Linked DNA regions of Homo sapiens: all the other regions are linked to region 3. The links are contacts of gene promoters, found by promoter capture Hi-C in blood cells and fetal thymus (Javierre and others, 2016). All regions are on one chromosome and are shown on one strand. The core of a region is centred on a gene start or on the middle of the fragment in contact, and the rest is flanking DNA. Distances in the headings are between cores, read along the strand shown. Region 1 holds the start of ATP2A2 (ATPase sarcoplasmic/endoplasmic reticulum Ca2+ transporting 2). Region 2 overlaps KCTD10 (potassium channel tetramerization domain containing 10). Region 3 holds the start of GLTP (glycolipid transfer protein).

What was found. Contacts are between HindIII fragments. The CHiCAGO score rates a contact against its expected background, and 5 or more counts as called.
Region 1: the fragment with the promoter of ATP2A2 here is called in contact with the fragment with the promoter of GLTP in region 3 in 1 of 17 cell types (fetal thymus); the score reaches 6.1 in fetal thymus.
Region 2: a contact is called between a fragment that was not itself captured here and the fragment with the promoter of GLTP in region 3, in 2 of 17 cell types (M2 macrophages and neutrophils). The highest score is 7.5, in M2 macrophages.

Annotation. Positions count from the first base shown.
Region 1 is chr12:110,279,874-110,284,052 of GRCh38, reverse strand. ATP2A2 (ATPase sarcoplasmic/endoplasmic reticulum Ca2+ transporting 2) reads right to left here and starts at 2,806. Exons shown (of 20, transcript NM_170665.4): 1 at 2,146-2,806; 2 at 1,432-1,449; 3 at 1,258-1,340. The coding sequence starts at 2,263. RefSeq lists enhancers at 1,357-2,111, 3,229-3,298 and silencers at 1,939-2,448, 2,539-3,138. The HindIII fragment of the contact is 3,608 bases long and covers 2,173-4,179 here.
Region 2 is chr12:109,460,783-109,465,575 of GRCh38, reverse strand. KCTD10 (potassium channel tetramerization domain containing 10) reads left to right here. Exons shown (of 7, transcript NM_031954.5): 3 at 4,771-4,793. Among named protein-coding and RNA genes, the nearest start is that of KCTD10, 14 kb to the left of the region's middle. RefSeq lists enhancers at 2,212-3,018, 3,825-4,631, 4,632-4,793. The HindIII fragment of the contact is 4,328 bases long and covers 25-4,352 here.
Region 3 is chr12:109,877,524-109,881,906 of GRCh38, reverse strand. It overlaps GLTP (glycolipid transfer protein), which reads left to right and starts at 1,366. Exons shown (of 5, transcript NM_016433.4): 1 at 1,366-1,635. The coding sequence starts at 1,533. It overlaps LOC124903012 (a long non-coding RNA gene), which reads left to right and starts at 506. Exons shown (of 3, transcript XR_007063455.1): 1 at 506-546; 2 at 733-792; 3 at 900-1,009. It also overlaps a transcript of TCHP not described here. RefSeq lists an enhancer at 283-784 and a silencer at 1,109-1,658. The HindIII fragment of the contact is 8,722 bases long and covers 1-4,059 here.

The sequences.
Region 1 (4,179 bases), core at 1,557-4,056, 400 kb before region 3:
GAATTATTAATGGCTACACAATACTTGGCTAATATGGCATAATAAAGTATCATAGCAGGATTTATGTAAAAATTATTCCACAAATTTATTTACTGCTGCCACTATCTACTTAAAAGATGGGTATAAATTTAATCTTTTCCTCATCTGAACTAAATAAATGCCCACTGCTTTGTTTATTTCGTTCTCAAAATAGCCCTCTATGGTATGGTTCTCACAAAGACTGAGGCTGATCCCTGGGACCTGCATACATATATGTACAAGAACTGAAACCGTGAAGTTTTGTCAATTTTGTTTTAACTAGAAAGAAGTACTGCACTGGGTGAATTTCACTTATCGTGGTTTTTGTAAGAATAACGTAATTCAAGAATAAAAGGCATCTCATGCTATTAGAATTAGGAACATCTGTGTCCTATTCCTGACCATTTTTAGGAAAACTAGCAAGCAATCTACTGCCCAAGAAAAAAAATGCAACAAAAAATTAATACCGAACATTTAAAAAAAAGTTAAAAACCTAGAAATATACTTGCCACCCCAACACCCTTTTTCTGCTGTAGTTCTTTGCATTTCACTAGTTTCTTAGCAACCATATAGCACTCAAGTGGGTAAGCACACACAGAACAAGAAAAAACACCATGCTGGTTTTTTTCCTTTAAGATCTAGAACCAACTGTACTAAACCTTGTTCTTTCAACCTAAGAATCACTTAAGACAGGGGTCCAATTTAGATAAATATACCACCCTAAAGGTCAGTGACCAAATTTGGTCAACAAGGGTGCCATCACAGCCGTCATCATTCTTGTCACCGTCAGGAACAACTGTCACCTTGCCATTACCAGGAAGGGAAAGCAACTGGAATATTCCTTTTGTAAGTTCTATTTACAGACTACAAAGAGTCCAACATCATCTTAGTATGATCTTACAACACGATAACAATGGAAGAACCCAAAACATTAAAGGCTTCCCAGAAAAGAACTTTTTGATATTAAAAGCTGATAAACCACAAGAATTTCTAAGACCATGCCACACTCTGGGACAACTCCTAACCACACTGTAAATGTCAGGCATCTATTTTCTGAATACCAATGGCTTCAAGTGTTTTGTTTTGTAATTTTAAAATGCCCAGATTGTTTTTAAACATAGAGACACAGCTTGCAACTCCAAATATGTTTTCACCCAATGGACATCATTTGTTTTCTGATTTATCTATGGAATACTTTCAGCTTTTGGGGGGAAAGAAAATAAATTTTTTTATACTTACAAAAGATATACATGCTGCCAGTAATAAAATCCTAACTAGCAAGTCTTCAAACTGCTCAATCACAAGTTCCAGCAAGGTTTTTCCTGTAAGAAACAAACACATGTGTTTTAACTGTCATCTTACCATCAGCACACCAACAGAGGAAAAAAAACAGAAACAGCATGTTAAGATTACCTTCTTCAGCCGGTAACTCTGTAGAATGTAGAAATTCGTCAAGCAATGTGTCAAGAGGGAGGTTAAAAAAAAAAAGAGAGAGACATTTTAGCACTTCGTTTTTCTAAAAAGAACTGCTACAATTCTAAGCATCAATATCTTTAAAACACAGACCTAGCTATAAGAATATCCGATTTTTTTAGCAGAGGGCATACCACGAAGATATCTCAAGGAAGCATGCACTCTTTGTAATCAATGGCCTGAGGTCTAGCCCTAAGCGTGAAATCACTTCGGGCTCCTGAACCTAGGAGTGGTTTCAGCGATGTCATCACTTCTGCCAGATGTGTAACTTTGGGTAGGACAAGAACGGTCAGAGGCCTTCCAACGACCTCGACTCCTCATAAATCGGCAGGGGACGAGAAAACGTCTTGCCGGGCTCAACCTAGCTGCAGAAGCCACGTCCCTCCCTCCACCGGGGCCGGCTGCTGCTGGAGAGAAGCCTCCGAGCCTTGCGCGCCGAAAAGGTCGAGGGCCCGAGAAGCGAAGAGGTCCAGGGAAGGCGAGGCGAGGACCGCAGCCCCTTTCTCTCCCGCGGGGCCGGCGCGCTGGCCCGACCCTCCGCCCGCAGCTGTCGGCGGGCGCGGAGCCGAAGCCCACGAGGTGGAGCCCGGTCAGCCATCTTCCCTGGCTCTCCCGGCCGCGCCGGGCCCCTGCAGCGGAGCGCCCTGCACCTACCGTTGGAGCCCCATCTCTCCTTAAGCTTCTTGACCTGTTCCAGGCTCAGCCCCGTACTCTCGTTGACGCCGAAGTGGCCCAGCACCTCCTCCACCGTCTTGGTGTGCGCGTTCTCCATGGCTTCGGGGGCCCGGCCGGCCTCGCCTCCCGTCCCCGCGGCCTCCTCGCCTCCGCCTCGCACTCCGGCCGCGGGCTCGTGCCACCCCGGGAGCCCAGGCGCGGACGGGCTCTCCCCTCCTCCTCTTGCGGCCGCTTCCGCCTCGCCGGGCGCTGAATCACCCCGCGCCCCCTCCCCCAGACAACCGCCCCTCGCGCGGCCCCGAGCTCCGCAGGGCGGGTTGGGGGCTCCTGACCCACCCTCCCTCCCCTCGCCAGAAGGGAGGGCCTCCCTCGCCCTCAGCCGCCCGCCGGGAGGGCAGGCCGCGGCCCCCGAGCCCCCTCCCCGCTCTCTTGAGGCGATCAGAGGCCCCGCCCGGGCCGGAGGAGGGGGCGCCCGGCAGACCACTGAGGGCGGAACGCGGCGAGGGAGGCGAGCCGGCGGGGCGGTGCGCGGCGCGCTCGCCCGGGTCCCTCAGCGCCGCACGCCCGACAGCGGCGGAGGAAACTGCGGCGAAGGAAAAGGAGGTGGCGTCGGGGACGGCTCCGCGGCGGCTGCTCTAATAGCATTTATCGGCCGCTGCCTCCCCTTTCGCCGCCGCCGCGGCATGTGGACGCCGCTCATTGGCCGAGAGCGCCCAGCGCGGCGCGGGCGGCGCGGCCCCGCCCCCTCCTCCCGGCTCCCTCCTCCCGCGCGCCTGGCGCCCACGCTGCCGCGCAGGCCCCGCCCCCTCCCGCGCGCCGCCCCTAGGAACCCGGATCGAGGCCGCGCGCGCCGCGGTCGCGGGGCTGGCGGAGGGGAAGCTGGGTACCCTCTTCTGTGCCTGCGGTTCTCTGACCCACCCACCTGCAGACGCAGGGTGGGGCGCTCACAGTGGGCACGCTGCTCTGGGGCCGGTGGGCGGATGGTTGGAAGGCGAGGCCGAGGAGCTGGGAGCGCGGTCCACGCGGGGCGTCTCGAGGCGCCCTCGGGCTGATGTCCTTGGCTCGCCTCCTCGCCCTCGGTCGCCCGGGCTGCGCTCTGCATCCTAATCTGGCTCCTTCAGAGCCCCCCTCAGAAACCAAGGGGAGGAATTCCGCAGTTCACTTCCCACACAACCCAAATCCTTCATCTGTCGCCTCGGGAACACCGCATCCTACACCCCCTGCCGCCAGCTCCTTCGCACGCCAGCCCCGATTCTTCCCCAGCGGGTTCTGGGCCCTGACGAGGGAACCCCCCTCGCGGGGGGGAGGGAGAAGAGTTGATTTTATTATTAATAGCTGACGCAGCGCTTGATAGGTGTCTGCAGGGCAGTCACAGTTCACGCCGCTGGAGCTGCCACACAGCAGCTAGACTTGGGCTAGGAGGTGCTTCGCTGTGGCTTTCAGATGAAGGCCATTTCATAGACTCACTTCCCTCGACAGGAGAAAAGGGGACTTGAATCCAAAGCTGCTCTTAAACCACAGATGATTTGCTCTGCTCGGGAGGACAAAGCGCAGGTCACAGCAAGATAAAGGGAATTTTGCCAATATAAAGAAGCTACATTACTTAACAAGGGGATGGGAAATTGCATGGAATTCATGAACAAAACATGAACATATTCTCTTCACAAAGAAGAGCAGCTTTCTTCACGGAGTAGGTTGCAGAATGAAGCAATTAGTCCACTTTTGTGTTTAACAATAACGCACCATCCGCATGAGCAAAAGCAGAGCAGAAAAATCACCTCAGTTGTCTCAAGTGGCTGGGCTTCAGGACTTAAGATAAATTCCTTCAGCAGATGCAAATTACAGTGCATCACCAGCTGAAAAAATCAGGCACGTCATGTCATTTAATTATTTCCAAGGAGTGGACGTTGGCATGTAGTTTTGATTGATACTTGGAAAAGAACCAACAAAACCCTACACGAAACAAACAAACAAAAAATTATACTATATGGCAACGCACTGAGAGAAGCCAGG
Region 2 (4,793 bases), core at 939-3,438, 420 kb after region 3:
GGGTCACCAGGTGGATCTCAAGCTTGGCTACAGAGGGAGTCACCTGAGGAGGTCAGTACTGGTGCCTGGGTCCCAGCCAGGGTGTGGCCCAGGCAGTAGGACTTTGAAGAGCTCTCTGGGTGATTCTAGTGTGCAACCAGCATTGAGAACCACAAGTGTCCATCTTTCCAGGTATTACTCTTACTATAGCTGTGCATGTCCCTAAACAAGGCGCTGTTGGTGTGTTTTTAAACGTGATGTAAATGGTGCTGTACAGTTTGTATGTTTTGCTTTTGCTTACGTAGCATTATGCTTGTGAGATCAATCCACAACTAAATAGCTCTCGTTCAGACATTTTCCGGTGGTAGAGTGTCCATTCTAGAAGCATACAGCCGCTGCCGGAGCCATATTCTGTTGATGATCATGTAGAGGGTTTGCGGTGTTCACTGTGACGAATGTGAACATCCTTGAACGCTTTCCCCGTGCGTGGGAGTTTCTCTGTGCGATGCTGCCCAGCCTTTGCCACATCATGGGGCACGTAGACAATCATATTTTCACTTTGGCAAATGAGGGGGCTCTGGACTCCCTAGATCCCACCCAGCCATCTCAAGGGCTATGGCTTTAAGATCTTACCCACTGTTGGGAGCTCAGCCCTAGAGTTTATTCCCAGGAGGGGAATTGGGACAGCATCTTCTACTTCCTTAGATATTGCAGGAGTCCCTTCTGGAGTGGTTATGGCAACTTCTACTCCCTGCAGAAGTCTGGATTTTTGCCAACCCTTGGCACTGTCCAACCTTTTAATTATTGCAAATCTGGTGAGTATGATATGGTACCTTGTTTTATTCAGTATTTCCTAATGTCTGGTACGTTGAGCATGTTTTTATGTGTATTGCTCTTTTGAGTTTAATCTTTTAACTGCTTGATTGCATCTTACTTACACATTTGCCTTTTTCTTATTACTTTGCAAAAGTTCATATACTGGATCCTGTTTCTTTGGGGTCCAGTGCTGCAAATATCTTCTCCCAGTCTGACTTGTCTGAGCTTTTTTAATGGGGCTTTTGGAAACCTCAGAGTTTAAATCGCTTTTTTACACTTACATCCTTGATCTACCTCAGTGATGCCCAAACCAATGGGTGATTTTTTGGGATATTTAGCAATGTCCAGAGACATTTTTGTTGTTTCTTGGGGATGATGGTGCTCCTGGCGTCAAGTGAGTAGAGGCCAGGGATGCAACTAAATACCCTACAATGTGCGGGGCAGCCTCTTACAACTAAGAATTATCTGGTCCAAAATGTCAAAGTGCTCAGGTTGGAGACCCTGCCCTAGGGATTCTGATCAGGAATGAGGCAGGTTGCTAGAATCTGAATTTTTCACAAGTACCTTGGGTGGCATTTATGATCAGGGGTGTTTGGGAACCACAAAAATATAGAGTATAAATACCTTAGGATGGCAAAGAGAGGTCAGTGAAGGTTCCCTGGAGGTGGTGGGAGAGGGGAAAGGAGAGGTCAGACATCCAGGGAGAGAGGAAGCACATGGTATGCTCACGGGGCGGGGAGGAGGGGAGCCTAGTGGCCCAATCCTCCTGACCCCCAGAGCAGCCTTCTCCTCCCTTGGGTCCCTGAAAGCAACACCAACTCCATCCTGGGGGCTGGAACTTGCTGCCTCTGGACGCTGCTGCTCTGCTTCCAGCAATAATGATGAAAGATGAGATTGTTAAAGACCCATAGCTGCTTTTGAGTGCTGTTGGTAGACCCAGCATTGTGCTGTGTGCCTTCTGTACGTTCTTTCATCATATTTTTATGTCAACCCTGTGAGATCGTTTGTAGAAGAGAAAACTGCTAGACAGAGGTTAATTGAAGCACCAATGTCATCCAGCAAGAAGGTATCAGAGCTGGGTTTCCAACACTTAACTGCTGTGCTGTGCTGAGGACGTCCTGGAGCCCAAGTCCAGTGCTGCCCAGTGTGGTCCCGGTCAGTTCTGCTCTCCAGCCTTGCCTAATGGGTCTGGGATCCCAGGCTGCCCTGACTTTGGACAGCCTTCCTAAATAGCTCTCGTGCCCCGTGGCAGCAGGAGAGAGACCCCCCACATGCGAGGAGCTGCTTGACTTCCATTTGTCTTTCTACGTGCTAGGCATTTGAGCTGACTTTCAAAGGGATCACTTCCTGCTTTGAAAGCAACCACAGTATCTTAAAGTCAAAACGCTGATTGAAACCTCCTGGAGAGTGTGCCTGGCTCCCTTGCCCTTATTTGTCCAAAGTATGATTCTTTCGCCACAAGCATTTCCTGACGGCATTCTTGAGCCGGAGCCCAGTGTCACGGTCTGCCTGTTCATTTATGGGAACTCTGGGCTGTCATTTGGATAATTGATTTCAGGGCCCTGGGTCTTCCCAAGCAGCTGAGTTCTGCAGACATCAAAGGCAGAACGTGGAAGGTTCCTTCCCTGCGCAGCTGAGTTGAATTCTATTTATCTTTTCAATTCTGGTGAAAGGAGTTTTCCTATGAGTGCCTTACTTTTTCTTTGTGGTCTAGTCCTGCTGCCTCTGCTTGGGAATGGCACTGCACCTCTCTGAGCCTCTGTTTTATTTGTGGAAAATGCAAGGGAATGAGCTCCCCTCAAAAAAGAACTGGTAGAAAGATAATACGGTCTTTCCCTGCCTTGTCAGCCTTCTGAGAAAAAATTACTTGGTGTAGGGTAGCACAGAGGCCTCAAGCTGGTAGCCTGCAGGCCCAGTTCAACTGCAGATGTGTTTTGTTTGCCTTGTGGTGGGTTGATGACAGTTTTGTTTTGTTTTAATTAGTTTACCGTCCTTTAAAAATCAGGGAATTCACAGAAAAATCTGGGTTTCTGGCATTGCATGGAACATCAGAGCTCACAGCTCTTGGGCCCACATTCCTGCCTGGCCACTCTTGGCTGGAGTGGGAAGAGCCTGCCTCTCTTGGGGGCAGGGCAGATGCTGTCCTGTCAGCCCCAGCCTCAGCCCCGCCCAGCTGCACTCATTTATTGTGCTTACTGGCCCTGGAGGCATCTGGGTTGCATAAGATATTAATTCCATATTTTGTTTTCTCAGATGTAGAAAGAAGTGGGGTGGGATCACATTTGCAGGTCACTGTCAGGGTGATGTGATTTACCATGCCTGGGAAGGCCTCTTTCTTCCCTGAAACCAGGAGTTGACTCAGGGCTATACATTTGTATTGCATTTCCCCCCACTTGGGGTATTCTTCCCACCTACTCAGGAAATTGGAACAGTGCGGAAGTAGGAAGTGGAAGCCGCTGGAGGGTGGAGACCGTTCTTTTAACAAAAGGCCCAGGAACTTTAGGCTGAGCTGTTTCATCAGGGGAACCTGGAAACGGCCCTGTTATCAAACTTTCCTGGCAATTCATGCAAAGAATACCAAACTATGCCCTAAAACCATGAGAGGGCACTTGGCAGGGACTGGACCTGCCAGGTAAGGGGTAGGGGAAAGCGGGCAGACTTAAGACTCTGGATTGTGAAAAAGATGCGTTTGCTGCTCTCAACTTTTGCTGGCCTCTGCCACTGATCCAAGGCCCAGGATCAGTAGGGCCCAGTCTGAGGAGGACGTGGAACAGGGCACAGCATTGTTAGGAGTGGAACAGGGCACAGCGTTGTTAGGAGTGGAAATGTTGGCCCTTCTCCCAAAGTGGGGAGGAAGGTGGTAGCATAAAGTGACCGATTCCTACTGAAGCCTTCTCACGGCCCTGCGCACTGGCATTTTCCACCTGTAATGCGTGGCAGGAGCCGTGGGGACGCCCCTTGCCTGAGGTCACCCTGCTTGTCAGAAGGCCTCGACTTCACCCTCTCATCTGTCTGGCTTCTTTTTAGAGCTTCACATTTGCTGTTGGGAGATACTTGGACTTTGCTCCATTCCTGCCTTCCTTTTTGGTACCTCCTCCTCCTAGGCTCCAGTCCTGTCTTCTACAAATACCACTCCCAGAGACACTGCATTTCAGTAGAGGAGTTCTGAAAACCCTCAGGATCTCTGGTGGAGGAATGTCAGCTCAGTGACAAGATTAGAAAGGACATTGAGCAGCAGAGTAGGGAGTCTTCCTGGCCCCCACCCCCAAGAATGTTTCACAGTGCCTGGATTTGGTCAGCTTTGGGACCTTTTTCCATATCCAATAAAAGCTGATTCTGTCTCCCCATGTTTACCGAGCTGCCTGAGGGTGGGGTCTGTCTTGGTCATTCACTAGCCACTAAGTGCTTGTTGCAGGAAGTTGTGGGATAGGACTTCCTGTGTTGGTGCTGGTCAGTGTCTAGGGCTCAGCCTTGGGAGTCAGAGGTCACAGTCTGCGAGGGTGAGACTTGTGCGTTCTTAGAAATGGCTCTGTTAATGTGACAGTTTGAAGGAAGCTTTGTGGAAAGAGGAAGTAGATATTTTTTACCCAGAAGGCTTTCTTCTATCCTTGGTATGTGGCCATTTGGGCCTGTTTTACCCAGGTGTGGTACACGAGGCCCCTGTTGGATGTCCTTGTGTAAGGGATATTTGAGGGTACTTCAGAAGTGTACTTTTGGGCCTCAAGAGTCGGGATGTCTAACAGAGCCTCAGACCAGGGTCACCTGGGGTTATGGTTGTGTCCAGCCAGTAGGGCCTGGAGGCTGTGGGGGCTTCCTCAGCCCTTAGTGGGCAGGTAGGCAGGTGAGGCTGCCATTCTCCAGGCAGTCCCGCTCTCCGCTGGGAGGTAGAGGGAGCCGAGAGACACCCCAGCTCTGCTCAGGGCCTCCCACAAGAGGAGGGCCCATGTAACCAGCCCCTGCCTCCTCCCTCTGCAGGCTGGATCCTCATTGACCGCTGT
Region 3 (4,383 bases), core at 117-2,616:
AGGATGGCAAATGTTTATTCTGGAATGAATAAGAGGCTCTCAACAATGGTGTGTTAGATTTTTGCATAAGCTGGGCATTGGGTTTAGGACATAAGCATCTAGGTGGGTTGTGGCTGAGATGACTTGTGATTCAAGGTGTGAGAAGCTGGACCCTGGGCTGTTGGAGAGACATTAGGTTTGGGAAACAAGTGTCCAGGTTGTGGGTGAATTGGTATAAACTGGGCTGGCTCCAGCTGTTACCAGTAGAAGGTGTCCAGGTACTTGGCATCTTGGAGAAAACACACAAACGAAGCAAGGAAAGCAAAAGCAAGGATTTACTGAGAACGAAAAGTCCACCCCACAGTTTGGGAGCAGGCTTGAGCGTAGAGGCTCAAGAGCTCTGCTTACAGAATTTTCTAGGGTCTCAATACTCTAGAGGTTTCCCATTGGTTACTTGGTGAATATTCTATGTAAATGAAGAGAATGAAGTGAAGTCACAGAGTCATTTACTCAGAATGTGCCCTATTGCAAATGGAGAGGATGTGCAAATGGAGAGGATGTTACTTGGTGGGAGAGGATGAATGTGAAGTTACAAAGTATAAATGGAGAGGATGTTTCTTGGAGTGTGTGGTCTGTGTAAATGGAGAGGATGAATGTGAAGTTACAAAGTGTAAAGGGCGTGAATGGAGAGGATGAAGTGAAGTTGCAAAGCCGTTTACATTCCTGTCATTGCTAAGGTGCTTTTTGATTTAGGTCTAGGAAGTCAGCCTTATGTTCCCTGCCTCCAGGCCCTATTTTTCTGCCTCACAACAGGTAACATCAGACTGTTGAGGGCAGACTGGACCCCAGATTTCGGGAAGCAGGAGTTGTCCAGCAGGGCAGTGGCTGAGTTAGACTGTGACTTCAGCAGTGTTCAACAGGTATAAGGTCATTGAAGACCAAGAATCAAGCAATCGAGCGTCCTCGTCGGTTGTAGCGAAAGAGAACCGTGACCAACAGGAGAGCAGTGTCCACCCAGGTCACTTGGGGTTACTGGGGTACAATTTTGGGGGAAACGGGGGTCCTGGGGAGCGTTGGCTGGGTGGGGCTGTAACCCGAGCTGGTGGGCGGGTTGTGAGCTGTGACCTGGCCCGAGTCGGCCCGCCCGGATTGGGGGGCCAAACCGGGGGCGGCGGGAGGCACACCTGGGGAAGACTCACCTGGGAGCGGCTCACTTGGGCCCTCCGGGACCCATGAACCGGCGCACCTCCTCTGCGTCCCGCCCCCGGCCGGCCCCCCGGCCAATGGGGGCGCGGAGACCTCGGCGGCGGGCGCGGATTGGGAGCCGGTGAGCGGGGGCGGGGCGGCGCGCCCGGCAGTTTAGGCGCTCGGCCGGCGGGCGGCGCTGAGCGCTCGGCTACGAGGGCGCCGTGCGGGCGGAAGTGGCGACGCTGGCGTCCCCGGAGCCTGCGGCGGGCGGCTGTGACGGCCCCGGCGCTGACGGCGGCGGCCGGGGGGGCGGTGTCGACGCCCGCGGCGCCGGCTGGGGCATCACCGCGGGCCTCGACCCCGAAATGGCGCTGCTGGCCGAACACTTGCTGAAGCCGCTGCCCGCGGACAAGCAGATCGAGACCGGGCCCTTCCTCGAGGCGGTGTCCCACCTGCCGCCCTTCTTCGGTGAGCCGGAATGGAGGGGGGAGGCGGCCCGCAGCCCCACGCGCACCCGAATCCTCCTTCCCCCGAGCATCCCCTAACCATCTCTGCCCTAGACACCCCTAAGTACTGTTTCCCCAGGCACCCAAGATCCTCTTTCCCTCCACTCACCCTAAATTCTCCCTTTCCCGGACCACTCCCAAGTCCTCTCCGCTCTAAACATGTCACATCCTGCCTGTCCTCCCCAAATCCTCCCTCTCCCTAGACACCTCACAGTCCTACATATCCCCCAAATGCCCCCTGATCATCCGTGCCCCCAACACGGATGATCTTCCATCTCCCTTAGGCATTCTGTAATCCACCATCTCCCCCAAAGCCTCCTGCCCCTTCTTCCCCAAAGTCCTTCATCCCTGGCGCTTTCTGATGGCTCTCAACTCGCTCCCCTTACAATGAATCCCCCCATTTCATAAGCCTTCTCTTTGAACGCTTCCAGCCTCTCCCTCATGGGACCTACAAACCCTTCCTTCTTCCCTCAGAATTCGCCCATTCCAGATCAAAGACTCCCATCTCCCCCTCCAAGGGTAGGAAGCCTGGTGAGGCGGGGACAAGGAGAGGGTTTTGAAGATGGAGTTGCAAAATTCCAGGGCCTCTTTCTAGGGGAAACCACCTAAAGTTTTTCCTCCTTTTAGGACAGGGGTGAGGGTTGTCGGGGGAGCTGTTTTGTGAGGTGACATCAGACATACAGAGCTTGGCACCAATTCCTCCCTCAGTTTGGGCTCTACGAGAGGAAGCCCCTCCCCTGTATGTCGTGTGGAAGTTCCTGGGCGCATTGGGAAGGCGGTCCACTTTCAGACCCTCTTCCCGCACTCCCTCAGCCTAGCCCAGTCCAGCCAAGGCCCCAGATGGAAAATGGGAACTAGAAGCCAGCACCACTGCCCCTGCCCTTTGCCTTTTGGGTCCCGGGTAAAGGGTGCAACCTGAGCCTCTATTCTCCTTCTCCATGTGGGCTCTGTCCTGTCCTGCTGGTTCACTTGGTGGCCTTGCAGGAAAATACCAGCCCCCAGGGCAGAGTCCACCTGAAACCCAAAGACAGGAGATCTTAAGACAGTCCGACTTAGTGGGCAAAGAAGGCTTGTTAGGGGTGGTAGTTCCCACAGTGTCCTGAGCTCTGGGATGGTTGTGGTTACCTGGAGGCTATAGTTCCCCTCCTTCACCTCGTGAGCCTCAGTGTCCCCAGCTGTGAAACGGGGATGCTGATCTCCTAGGGCAGCTGTGAGGAGTCGATGAGGTGGTGTGTGTAAAGTACCGAGGCCGTAAGTGCCAAATAGGTCTTCGCTGTAGGGGGTGTGGTTTTAAGTTCCTGAATCCAGTTTTGGTTCCTTGCTAGAGTGATTAATCGGTGTTTGAGGGAGTGCAATTGTCTGGTGTGTATGATTCCCAGACCTGGGTAAGCAACCTGAGAGCAAGGGCTTGGTTTTTTACATCCACTCTGTGTCCTCAGTGCCCAGAACAGTGCCTGGCACATAGCAGATGCTCAGTCAATACTGCTGAATGCACAAAACTTTCTTATTATCAGTGTCACAGTCTTGAGATAATACTGACTCTCCAGGTGGGGGCTTGGGAGCGAACCAGCTCTAGCATTGAAAAGTTGTTTAATTTTGTGATGTTGTTGGTTGTTGTTGTTTTTTTTTTGCTTGCTTGTTTCCTCTTTGGTTGCAGGAATAGTTCCAAGTCAGAGCCAGCTTGCCCTGGACAGGGATTCAGAATCCATTTAAGCCAGTGGTTCTCAACTGAGGGCAGTTTTGCCCCTTAGGGTACATCTGACAATGCCTGGAGGCATTTTTGTTGCAACTGAGTTGGGGGATGGGGCACGGGGTGTCTTGTGAGTAGAGGCCAGGGAGCTGCTCAGTATCCTACAGTGCACAGAACAGTCCTGCCACAACAAAGAATGATCCAGCCCCAAACATGAGCAGTGTCAAAGGTGGAGAAATCCCAGGTTAAACTCTGTGGCTTTTTCTTTCCTTATTTTCAGCGAGGTTGCACATCCGTTCTGTATTTGGGGGTATCATCATTTGATGCAATTATCTGGCTGGTTTTGGAGGAAAGAGGGAGGTGGCAAGCCAGAGCCAGCAGTCATCTGGTGCCAGGGCTAAAGAGCATCTCCTCCTCCCTTTCCTTGGTCTCAAAGGACCCTTGTCTTTGTTGCAATCCCTGTGCTGTGGGGTGTCACATCTGTTGACAGAAGTACCATTTATACAGAAGCCGCAGTGGGGTTGGTCCACAATGGGTTAACCACCACAGGGCCCTCTGCCCACCAGAGCTGTTTACTGTTCACCAAAGAGGCTGATTCTTAGGACTCTAAAGAAAAAAAAAGTGATAGTTCGTTTGAACCATTATTCTCTTCTGTGGGGGGAGGAGAATTGCTCCTGAAGGTTGAAGACTTAAGCTTTAGGAGGATTCTTCCACGAGTGACTTTTCTCTGGGACGTCTGATCAAGATCATTTGTCGGCTGTGATGCAGGGGCTTTTTCTAGATCTTGGGAGCGTCTGGTCACCGGGATGATCTGGGTGGTGTGTGTGTCTCTTGAATGGAGCTGCTCTGGGGTGAGGGACACCAGGAGTGTGAAACGCCTTGCAGCTACAGTTTCCTCCAAGTCAGGGATTTTCCACCATGGCACTTGCCAACATTTGGGGCTGGCTCATTCTTTGTGGTGGTGGGGCTGTCCTGTGCATTGTAAGATGTTTAGCAGCATTCCCGGCCTCTACCTACCAG